3 separate regions of the Homo sapiens genome follow, and all the other regions are linked to region 1. The links are contacts of gene promoters, found by promoter capture Hi-C in blood cells and fetal thymus (Javierre and others, 2016). All regions are on one chromosome and are shown on one strand. Each heading gives the region's core, a stretch centred on a gene start or on the middle of the fragment in contact. The rest is flanking DNA. Distances are from core to core; before and after follow the strand shown. Region 1 holds the start of NAF1 (nuclear assembly factor 1 ribonucleoprotein). Region 2 has its middle 340 kb from the start of FSTL5. Region 3 overlaps MARCHF1 (membrane associated ring-CH-type finger 1).

Region 1 (4,062 bases), core at 487-2,986:
TTTGTACGAATGGCCTATACACCCACACTCATAGCAAGTTAAAACAAGAAAAAGTGCATTATACTAACTAAACCTGCTTCTTCAGTTTCCATTTGATTTCACTGCTGTTAACTGGCAAAAAGTTGTACCCCTTTTGACTTCTTCAAATATTTGGTATCCTCTGCCATCACCCACAGAGTCAGAAGTAGTATCCTGACACTAAGTTGGCCTATTATGACGCCATATCCCTTCTGCTTTCAAAACGTATCCCCAAATCATCTACCATTTACTTTTCTTTGCTAGTAAAATGAGCTCTGAAATCCCACAAGATGATTATACTGCAATCTTAGTACTGCCAAGAAATCCAACCTTGTTTACAGTTGTTACTTCCCCCTCCCAGTACATTTCATACCCTCTCCTTCTACTCAAATCCTTCAGCCTTCTTCACTTCCACTCTCCGCTGATGACTTCCCTGAAAACTAAACTTCTCACCTCCTCAACACGTGTCTATCTTGTTAACCTGTTCAGTACCCCACTCAACACACTCAACTATTTGTAGACAATGTTCAGTGTGGTTTAGTAACATCCCACATGCTGGAGTCCTCTCCAGCCCAGAGATTTCATATTTAAAAGACAGGTGTGGGGGCAAGGGGGAAAGGCTCTCACAAAACGTAAGAAGCATAAGATACTACTAAATAACACTGTTTGGCTACTTTCATAAACACGTGTTCCCTGCAAGGATTCTATAAATTAACGTAATCATCAAGAGCCAGCTTTGAAACACAAAAAATAATACTTTTCCTGATCCCCAATGTATGTGGTTCAAAAAACAAAGCCTAGATGTGATGATAAAAAAAAATCAGATCTGACACAAAACTCAACTATAACCACAAAAGTACAGCCTAAACTGAGTAGTTACGGAAATAACCTAAGATCCTCGGGTTTTCTAAAGTCTAACAAAAAATGATACGATCTATACATAGAACCCTTCAGGCCACCAAATTTAGGAAATAAGTCAGTACTAAGCTCAGATTCACAACGCGACCTGCTTTGAGAGGCAGCGAATAAGGGGCAGTCGGAGCCAATACTTCAACACGTGAGCCCGGAGCACCAACGACCTGCCCACCCTCCAGGGCCCACACAAGCAACCTCTAGGCTCCTAGGCCCCAGCCACCCCCGCCCGTCATACAAGACCTCTCCCCACAGCTCCGGGTCCCTTAGGCACCCGACCTGTCCGAGTCCGAATCCGAGTCCGAGGTCTCCAAGGAGTCCGGCGCCCGCGCAGGCTCTGCGGCTCCTGGGGAGGTGACGCAGTCTCCGCAGGCCGGCGATTCAGCCGGTGGCTGTGGCTGCGGCGCCGGGGTCCCGGCCGCGACGGCGTTCAGAACGGGCTGCAGAGGCTGCTCCCCGGCAGGCTTAACCTCCACGGTCTGCCCAGCGTCCGGGGACCCCTCAAACGACTGTAGCGGCGGCTGTGTCCCTGGCACAGGGGCAGAGCCCGGAGACGGAGCCGCCGGACCTTCCCCAACTCCAAAGTCGGTGCCATTGAATTTCAGAGTTTCCAGCTGAGCGGCGGCGGCCTCCACTACCTCCATCGCACCGCGCCAGAAACCGGGTCGGCCTCAGGATTGGGGCCCCTGGACAAGCTCACGGCTCTCTCCAGAAATAGAAAAACAACTTAGGCAACCGCAGCAACACTGCCTGGGCCCAACTTCCCGCGTTTCTCAGGTAACTACACGCGGAGGAGCCAAAAGACACGCCCCCGCCATTTACGCAGCAACGCTTTCCGAAGAGCGTGTGACGTATGTGGCGCGACGGCGCGACGGCGCTCGCGGGGGCAGGATACATGCGTCATATCTTCGAAAATCAGGATTAGGGGGTCGGGCGCCGTGGCTCACGCTCGTAATCCCAGCACTTTGGGAGACCGAGGTGGGCGGATCACAAGGTCAGGAGTTCACAGACCAGCCTGCCCAACATGGTGAAACCCCATCTCTACTAAAAATACAAAAATTAGCTGGGCATGGTGGCGCGTGCCTGTAATTCCCACTACTTGGGAGGCTGAGGCAGGAGAATCGCTTGAACCCAGCAGGCGGAAGTTGGAGTGAGCCGAGACCGCGCCACTGCACTCCAGCCTGGCGAGAAAGCGAGACTCCGTCTCAAAAAAAAATAATCAGGACTAGGGAGGCCCTAAATCGACCGTTTTCACTGCGTCATGTGAACCATTCAAGGCCTGAATGTCGGATTTTCCTATTGCTGCATGTGAACCAATTCTGCTTGAAGCGCCAAAATGAAGCAGGGATTATACAACAGGGGGGTGCCTGAAGAATGCTAAGTTCTGTACATCAGAAACTTGAGCCAGGAAGTCTTGACAAGACGCTAGTAACTTCATGAAAGTTAAATGAAGTTTATCCATCAATAGATCCATCTGTCGATAGATAGGGTATTAACCATTTTTTCAAAAATGTAACTACAACTATTCCATTTTCCTTTCTCCAAAGTACCCTCAAAGAGAGCAGTAATGGACAAAATTTTGCTGTGTTGTTCATGTTATGGTGATGTCTATATCATACTTAGCACTGTTTCGTAGTAGAGAGATGAGACTATGAGACTGAAATGTACTCACTTATTGTTGGAAACCACTAGTCTAAATTGTGGAGAAAGCAAGCAGAGTTCTTAGGACTGAGGAAGAGATCAGAATTTTCTGGTTTCCTATTAGGTCTTCAGTTTGAGGCATCAGTCCCTGTGTAGTAATAATAATCATTGATACCATTTGTTAAACATGCATATGTGCCAAGGACTGTGCTAAAGATTTTATAAATTATTCACTGAGAATTTAGTGTGTCATCTACAACAGTAGATCTTCATAGAAATGCAAGGCAAGTGTAATAAGAGTAAGGTTTTAAGAAGCTTACAATCTACTTGAAGTAGAGAAGGGCAATGCACAGGAGATAACTAGAAAAATATTTGAAATATGAAATAGAAAATCCAAGTGCAGCAGAAATGGGAAGTAGGATTGGTAGGCTATTTCATGGAAATCCTCCAAAGTGAAGAAGGACTTTAAACTTGGGATACGAACTTACTAGCACAATGATTAAGCAGAGCTCAGAGTTTTCAACTAAAAAGACCTGTGTTCAGGCCTCAGCTCTACCATTTTGTGTTTGGTGTTACTGACTTTGGGCAGTTAATCTAAATCCTAATTTCCTTATCTGTAAAATGGAGATAAAAATACTATCTCATTTAGTTCATGTGAGCACTAAGTAAGGCTTTATATAAGGGAGTGGCATGTCATACATTCAGTGTGCAAAAATACTTGGAAAATGGAACAATGCATGAACTCACGAATAAAATATTTAATTAACAATGATCTTGCAAAGACATGCAGTACAGATTTGAGAAGGGAAGACGTTTGAGCCAGAATTATTCCCCAGCCAGCCACTTTGTTGCATTTTTCCAGGAATTAGGTGATAAAAGTCTGAACTAGGCTTACAGTCAATGAAATAGAGTAAAGGACATCCCCAGCATCAGGGGAAGAATAAAAGTACTCTAAAATTTCTGGTCAAGGAAATTAGAAAGAAGTTGGTATTACCAATAAAAACGGAGAAGTTGGCCAGTCGCAGGGCCTCACGCCTGTAATTCCAGCATTTTGGGAGGCTGAGGTAGGCAGATCACCTGAGGCCGGGAGTTTGAGACCAGCCTGGCCAACATGACGAAAACCCATCTCTTCTAAAAATACAAAAACTTAGCTGGGCATGGTGGTGGGCACCTGTAATCCCAGCTACTTGGGAGGCTGAGGCAGGAGAATCGCTTGAACTCAGGAGGCAAAGGCTGCAGTGAGCCAAGATTGCACCATTGCACTCCAGCCTAGGCAACAAGAGGGAAACTCCCTCTCAAATTAATTAATTAATTAATTAAACGGAGAAGTTGGAAAGAGATGTGGGTATGTGAAGTTGAGTCTGAAGAAAAACTAGACAATTAAAAATGTAAATAGGCATTTAAAAATAAGAAACTGGAATTTGACAGAAAGGTTAAGACCAGAAGCCTAAGTTATGGGATAATTGAAATACTCATTTGTTCATTCAGTAA
Region 2 (4,062 bases), core at 496-2,995, 660 kb before region 1:
AATGGCTTATCCAGTGAAAAGGTAAATCACTGGATTCTCCTAACTCAAAAGTCAAAGCTGTCTGGCTTTAAGCACAACTAGACCCAATTATCCAATTATTAAAATATGTTTCAAATCTACACCTTTTCAACTTTGGACATCGTTTTCCCCTATAGGCTTTTTTTAAGATACACTTTCCCCAGTGTTACATTTTGTTTTGTCTCCATGAATGTAAATATATTTTTAGTTTCCCAGCCTGGTTTTCCTGGGTTTGGCTTGAATCATCGCCTCTCTGTGAACCAACTCCTGCAATCCTAAGTATCTCCACTGGATCACATAACTAGGTTTAGAATTAGGAGGTGAAACCAAAGCGATCTAAATCACACTGCCTGAAAGTGAGAAATAGTTGGTTCTTCACATGAAAATAAGCACTTGCACTCCCCAGTAGAAGAGGAAAGCATTGTCGATCCGGTAAAAAGAACTGTGGATAAGAGGCAATTCTCAAATTGGAAATCTAATTTATATATTTGCCCAGGCATGAGGGAAGGGAGAGTGGATTGCAATCTCTTGCATATGTATGATTTTATATTTTGACCATGTGGTTAGACAATCATCTGCTAGGAGTGATTCTTAAATAACGACAACACGAACATAATTGTCATCATAATGCCACATCATATCCACAGGCCTTGGAACAAAGAAGAGTTATTGGCTATATTTGAAAGAATAATGCTTAGATTGTCTACCCAAGGTATTGCATTTATAAATGATGTGTATTTTACACCATGATGTGGGAGGCGGGTAGAAAACTTAAACACTATGACTGAACATTTAAGGAGTGGAGAGTTATGTTCCTCTTCCTTGAGGGCAGAGTATCTACTTATTTGAAATTCTTCTGCATGGGAGAATCACCTATTCTCTTCATTTATTTATTTATTCAATCATTTATTTATGTAAGTATTGGCTCATGAATATTTATTTTATATTTAGATGTATAATCCAGTACTACTTTATTTTTATATTTTTGCTCAAATTGTCCCAGCTTTGGCCATTAGAGGCTCTTTTAATTGCATCCTGTGTCACTTTGACATACTCTCATCATTGTGTGTGTGTGTGTGTGTGTGTGTGTGTGTATGTGTGTGTGTATGTGCATGTGTGTTTGTGTGCTTTGGGCACCTATCTTTTGATGCTACAAGGTGTTCCAGTGAAGGAGTAAAATTACTGGAGAATGGTATGAAAAACCAAGATCTGGACACTAGGTGTGCTCGTTGCTACTGGGGTGTCATTGTTTCCAGAGATGCTCAATTAATAGAGCAGGAAATACAGATATATACTATCCTATGACTACATATATATAGTAAATATTTCTACATATGGCCATTGTATCTATATTAAACTAAATATGAGGTCATTTTGATGTCTTCAACTCTAATCCTTCATCAGAAATCATATGACTATCAGTGTGTGAATCTCTTTCTGGTCCATCTAGTTTGTTCCACAGATCTCTCTGTCTATTCTATGTCAATAACACATTGCCTTGTTTACTGTCTCTCTATAAAAAGAGGCATTAAAAATGTTCCAACTGTGCTCTTCTTCTTGATTGTGTTGGTTATTCTAAGGCTTTTGACTTTCCATGAAAAATTTAGGATCAGTTTGTCAATATCTACCAAATACCTTCCTTGGATTTTGATTAGAATTTTCTTGAATCTATAGATCAATTGGGACAAATTGACATCTTAACAATATTGAGTCTTCCAATTTGTGACCACAAAATATCTTTTCATTTATTTAGAGCTTCTTTTTTTCTTTCATTACATTTCTTTAGTTTTCCACTTACCAACATTATGTATTTTCTTAGATTTGTGGTGAAGTATTTCATATTTTAGTGATATTGCCAATCTTATATTATTTAAATTTTAAATTTCACTTGCTTATTGCTGGTATACAGAAAAGCAATAGACTTTTGCATAGTAATTGTGCATCGTTTAACCTTGCAATAACTTGCTTATTAGTTTTCCGTACATAATGTTGAAGATAGCAGTTACAGGATTTGCTGATGGATTGATTGTTTTAAGACAAAGAAAATTCAAAGATTTTGACTTGGATAAATGAGGTGGTGCTTATTATAATGGAAAAGAAAACCAGAATGGGAGGCTTAGGAAGTATAATTTCAGAAATCCAATATTGAGATACCAAATATTCAACTGGAAATGTCAAGAAGCCTGGAGTTTATGAAAGAAATCTGGTTTAGAGACAGACATTTGTATTGATTGGCATGTGTGTATACATATATATATTTTGAAAAAGTATACATATTCTATATATATGTATATATAGTATAGTCTATACTTATAAATTATATCCCATAGTTTAATATATATATGTGCTATATTACATACACAGAAAGAGTACTATACTATATATAGTAGTACTATACTGTATATATATATAAGCATATATATGTATGTATACAGAGATTGAATGAGAAAACTTAAGTAATAAGATAAGTTAGAAAACACCTATGTCATGGATTGAGGTCTGAAATGTGTAAAAGTTTAAACGACTAGAAGAGGAGCAGAAATCATCAGAGAAGCTGAGAATGAGTTTCCAAATATGCAGATCCAGAATTAAAAAAGAGAAAAACCTCTAAAATCAAGTGAAAAGAGGGCTTCAATAAAAGGTAGTGACCAACTACATCTAATACAGCTGATAAAACATTTATGCTCAGAGAAATTACCATTGAATTTGTCAACATTGGTTACCTTAACAAGAGCTATTTTACTGGAGCAACGGGGTGGAGGGGGAAGACTGAAGAACCTTCAAGAAAAAGATTAAAAGGTACAAAAAGGATGCAGTTTGCACTGACAACTCATTAAGAAAATTTTGTTATAAAGAGAAGCAGAGGCCGGGCGCGGTGGCTCACACCTGTAATCCCAGCACTTTGGGAGGCCGAGACGGGTGGATCACGAGGTCAGGAGTTCAAGACCAGCTTGGCCAAGATGGTGAAACCACGTCTCTACTAAAAATACAAAAAAAAAAAAATTAGCCGGGCGTGGTGGCACGCACCTGTAATCCCAGCGAGTCCGGAGGCTGAGACGGAGAATTGCTTAAACCTGGAGGGGCGGAGCTTGCAGTGAGCCCAGATAGCACCACTGTACTCCAGCCTGCTGGGTGACAGAGGGAGACTCCGTCTCAAAAAAAAAAAAAAAAAAAGAGAAGCAGAGACATGTAGGGTAGATGCATTGTGCCTGAAGAAGGATGATATTTTGACATATGTACATTGATGGAAAAATCTTGTGATTTGATGACACAGGAGAAAAAGAGAAGACACAAGATCATTTTTGCAAAACTGACAAGTAATTTGATGGTACGTGACTAAAGGTGATTTGCAATGAGGGGAACATCACATAAGCTCATATAATAGCAAAAATGGTAAAACATATAAGTAGAGGCTCAGTACAGTAGGTAGAGATTCTTTATGGTCTGTGTGAATAATAAATATCAAATATAAATTTAGATTATTTCTTACAGATAGCTGTGATATCATTACCCCCTAAAAACATAAAAGGAAATCTAAATTCTATTTTGTGCTGACAATGGAATTACACAACAGTGCCTCTGCTTTCTTGCATGTGTGACTTCATGACCACATTGTATTATCCAAACTTTTAGAAATAAGCCACCAATAAGGATATACAGTTGCCATCAGGTCATAGTTAAACATATTTGATTTAAAAAATAGCTCTAAAAGAACACATATGCATTTGTGTACATGCACAAGTAGAGAAAGGGAACTGTCCTCAGCTAATAAAATATTAAACATATTCACCCTCACAATGGTAAAGAAAATGAGAATAAAAATATAAAAATGAATTGAGCAAAATTTAATTAACAAATTCAAGGTTTATTAAATGGTTATTTAATATCACTGGCTTTTTAAGAATTCTATTTAGTAATAAATATCCAAAGTGTTAGATATAATTTTAATTAAAGTAGTAGGATGCAAATTAGTGCAAAGCATTTTGTCAAGTTTGTTAATAGCTGAGATAGAATTTCATCAAATTGTGAGCTATTATTATTTAT
Region 3 (4,062 bases), core at 683-3,182, 520 kb after region 1:
GCCCAGGGACCCCCTGCTCTGTGCAGCCTCGAGACGTGGTGCCCTGCATTCCAGCTGCTTAAGCTTCAGGTTCAGCCATGGTTAAAAGGGGCCAAGGTACAGCTTGGGCCAGATTAGTTCCCATAATCCTCACATGCTGTGGAAGGGACCCAGTGGGAGGTAATTGAATCATGGGGGTGGTTACCCCCATGCTGCTGTTCTCATAATAGTGAGTTCTCATGACATCTGATTGTTTTATAAGGGGCTTTTCCCCCTTTGCTCAGCAGTTCTGTTCCTGCTGCCATGTGAAGAAGGACATGTTTGCCTCCCCTTCTGCTATAACCGTAAGTTTCCTGAGGCCTCCCAAGCCATGCTAAACTGTGAGCCAATTAAACCTTTTTCCTTTATAAATTACTCAGTCTTGGGTACGTCTTTATTAGCAGTGTGAGAACGGGCTAATACATAGATATTATAGTTTAGTACAGCAAAATAATTTCAGTCAAGTGGCATTAAAATGTATTGTTGTAATAAAATCAGTATATTTTGATAATTTTTTGACAAATAGAAGTATAATATCTTGAGTAAGTGGTGCCTTTTCTACTTTGCATAGAGGTGCCACTAAGGATTGGTGGTAGACCTCAGTTTGATATTTATGATGTATTAGTCTGTTTTCACACTGCTGATAAAGACATATTTGAGACTGGGCAATTTGCAAAAGAAAGAGGTTTAATGGACTTACACTTCCACGTGGCTGGGGAGGCCTCACAATCATGGCGGAAGGTAAAAGGCACATCTCACATGGTGGTCGACAAGAGAAGAGAGCTTGTGCAGGGAAACTGCCTCTTATAAAACCATCAGATCTTGTGAGACATATTCACTATCACAAGAACAGCACGGGAAAGACCTGCCCCCATGATTCAGTTACCTCCCACCCATTCCCTCCCACAACATGTGGGAATTCAAGATGAGATTTTGGTGGGGATGCAGCCAAACCACGTCAATGATCTAGATTTTGGAAGCTGTAGAGACTAGACTGTCTCTCATCTAAAAAATATTAAAGATAAGGGACTAACCAAATCTTGACAGTAATGCAGAATGAAGAAAAAAAACTAGTTGGAACGAGGTGTATTTACACTGATAGGGAACAAGGCTCATATTTTCTGTTAACTTAAATAGTCCTTAACAAAATCAGGTCTTCCTGCTGGGGTAAAGGGACCTGCTTGGAAAAGGTCCATGCATGTGTTCGACTTATGATAGCTGAGAAACACATTATTTCAAAACTTAGTGGCTTAAAATGATGACAATTTATTTTGCTCACAACTCTGCATTCTGGACATGGCTCAGCAAAGATAATCCTTGGGGCTCTGCTTGGTATCAGCTAAAAAGGATTGAAGGCTCAAGGCAGACATCATGTGGAGGCTCACTCACTCACTCACTCACTCACTCACTCACTCACTCACTCACACGTCTACCTGCTAGGCTGGGGCTGAAACAGCTGAAGCTCCTTGGGCATCTCTCTCTCTCTCTGGAAACCGTGTGATTTCTCCAGCATGGGGGCTTCAGGGCAGCCAGCATAGCCTTTATGCCTCTCAAGGTATGTACCATGAAAGGCAAGAGTTGTATCACCATTTATGACCTTGCCTTGGGAGCCACCACGTAGTACCTCTTAAGCCACCTTCAGTTGGTCAAGGAAGTAGCAAAGGTTCGCCTAGTTTCAAGGAGAAGGGAACATAGGGCCCTCCAATTAATAGAAGAGTGTCAATGTCCCATTGTAGGAAGAACATGTGGCAGGGATTGTATGTTGGTGTAGCAAGTAAAAGGAGCTCTAGAAAAATCATGAAATATCAACTGGAATATATGTTGCCCATGTCAGAAAGAATTCCAGTTTGGACAGTCTCAAGAAAAGAAAAAAACAAAACAAACATACAAACAAACAAAACTGCTACAGAAATGCCTCAAAAGAAAGCCAGCATTTGGCTACATGTCACACCAATTCCTCAACACCAGATTTTGAGAGCACTACCATTTGTTCTTTTTACCAAGCTAGAAATTCCTTCATAAGATTCATCTCTATTTTATTCTGTATTTCATTTCTAATTTTATCTGATAACTCCTATTTCTTCATTTTAAATCATGAAATGACCAATATCATGATCAATATTTACTTCTTCTTGTTACCAGCATTGCTTAAGTACTCAATAGCCCATATCCAGTTTATTTTATTGCCTCTGGGCATTTCTCTCTTCCCTTTGCTCCTCCAATCTATCCTATATATTGCTACCAATGAATCTACTTTTTTCTAGCATTTTATGAAATTTTCAAATAAACACAAAAGTTGAAAGAATTATGCAGTAAACATCAGTATATCCAACATCCACATTTCTGAAACTTTTCTAATTTTACTTTATCACATATTTATTCAGCTATCCATCCCTTTATCCATTCATAAATGTATCTTGTTTCCACGATGCCTGTCAAAGTAAGCTGCACACTAAAGTACACCTCATTCCTAAATAATTCAGAATGCATATCATTAACTATTAAACAGCATTGAATATTTGTGTACATTTATTTTGTTAGGTAAAATTTACATATACAGTAAGTCCTGCTTAACATTGTGAATAGGTTCTTGGAAACTGGCTTTAAGAAAAATGATGGACAGTAGGTCCTCAACTCCCTTCATTAAAAATCGTTTTATTACAACATTTCTGACAAAAAATATCTGGTTTTATTACACTTTTTTTTTTGCATAAAGGTGCAGTTTCTCAGAACATTTTGACGGCAGTTAAGTGAAGACTTAATGTAGTGAAATGCATAAATCTTAAACATGTGACAAGTTTACAATGCCTCATATTAGTAAGCTCCATTTTAATTATCCTATTCCCCTTCTCAAGAAACCCAAATAGTTTACTATTGACTAGCAAAATAAGTCTCCCAATCTTTTCTTAATACAACTGCATTAATTCTCCAATTATTTATTTTATTTTTATTTTTATTGTCTTAGACAGAGTCTCACTCTGTCACCCAGGCTTGGAGTGCAGTAGCGTGAACTCAGCTCACTGCAACCTCCGCCTCCTGGGTTGAAGCGATTCTCCTGTCTCAGCCTCCCAAGCAGCTGGGATTACAGGCATGCGCCACCACCCCAGGCTAATTTTTGTATTTTAGTAGAGATGGGGCTTTACCATGTTGGCCAGGCTGGTCTCAAACTTCTAACCTCAGATGATCCACCTGCCTCAGCCTCCCAAAGTGCTGGGATTACAGGAGTGAGCCACCACACCCGGCCAATTCTCCAATTATTTTTGAAATCACTCCCCTTTTCTTTGATAGTATTGGTCCTACATAATCTGTGATGCCAATTTACACTTTTGTGTGTGTCACACTGAAGAAAAGTCAGAGAGGATTATGGAGGTGGTTTGGCACTTTGATCTGTGGACAAATAACTCCTGGAGTACAGCACCTGGTTAAATATGCAGGCTCTTCCACTAACTTGTTTTTGGACTGAGGGCAAATTATTTAGTATAAGTCTTAGTTTCATAATCTTCAAATTGTAAATCTGTCTAGAAGGGTTCTTGTCAGGTTTAGTAATAACATGTGTATAGTACCTACTGGAATGCTTAACACATAGTAAGTGCTTAATAAATTATATATAGCAGATGCTTACTGAGTGATCTTATTAATATTAGTAAGACATAATAAAGTTCTAAACTCCAGAAATTTTAAATTCAATCTTTTGTTGTGTTAATAAAATAATTTTCCATATCAAATAATGTTTTTACCTCAGATATAATAAAAAATAATTTGATTATGCATTAAGCAGCAAACAAAGCTTCTTGTTATACTTGGGCAGAAAAAGGTCTATCTACAAATTATATGTTGCTCTGTTTCTTCATTGGGGTTCACATGGGAGTGAATAAACGTAATAGGGAATAAGATAAGTGGAAAGTTGAATGGAGGCACCAAATTTCTGTTATTAGCTTGGTGCAAAAGTAATTGTGGGTTTTGCCATTGAAAGAAATGGCAAAACTCACAATTACTTTTGCACCAAGCTAATAACATTTTTCTTCAAATCTCCTTTAACTACCT

Evidence for each region. The method cuts DNA at HindIII sites, captures the fragments that hold promoters and counts their contacts. A CHiCAGO score of 5 or more calls a contact.
Region 2: a contact is called between a fragment that was not itself captured here and the fragment with the promoter of NAF1 in region 1, in 1 of 17 cell types (M2 macrophages). The highest score is 5.6, in M2 macrophages.
Region 3: a fragment that was not itself captured here is called in contact with the fragment with the promoter of NAF1 in region 1 in 1 of 17 cell types (naive B cells); the score reaches 5.1 in naive B cells.

Annotation. Positions count from the first base shown.
Region 1 is chr4:163,165,154-163,169,215 of GRCh38, forward strand. NAF1 (nuclear assembly factor 1 ribonucleoprotein) reads right to left here and starts at 1,737. Exons shown (of 8, transcript NM_138386.3): 1 at 1,210-1,737. The coding sequence starts at 1,574. RefSeq lists enhancers at 882-1,749, 1,241-1,320, 1,351-1,470, 1,491-1,690. The HindIII fragment of the contact is 3,845 bases long and covers 1-2,884 here.
Region 2 is chr4:162,500,801-162,504,862 of GRCh38, forward strand. No RefSeq gene overlaps it. Among named protein-coding and RNA genes, the nearest start is that of FSTL5, 340 kb to the left of the region's middle. The HindIII fragment of the contact is 6,861 bases long and covers 1-4,062 here.
Region 3 is chr4:163,682,492-163,686,553 of GRCh38, forward strand. The region is part of intron 5 of MARCHF1 (membrane associated ring-CH-type finger 1); the gene reads right to left. All of the region lies in intron 1 of LOC107986325 (a long non-coding RNA gene), which reads left to right. Among named protein-coding and RNA genes, the nearest start is that of TMA16, 190 kb to the left of the region's middle. The HindIII fragment of the contact is 3,742 bases long and covers 62-3,803 here.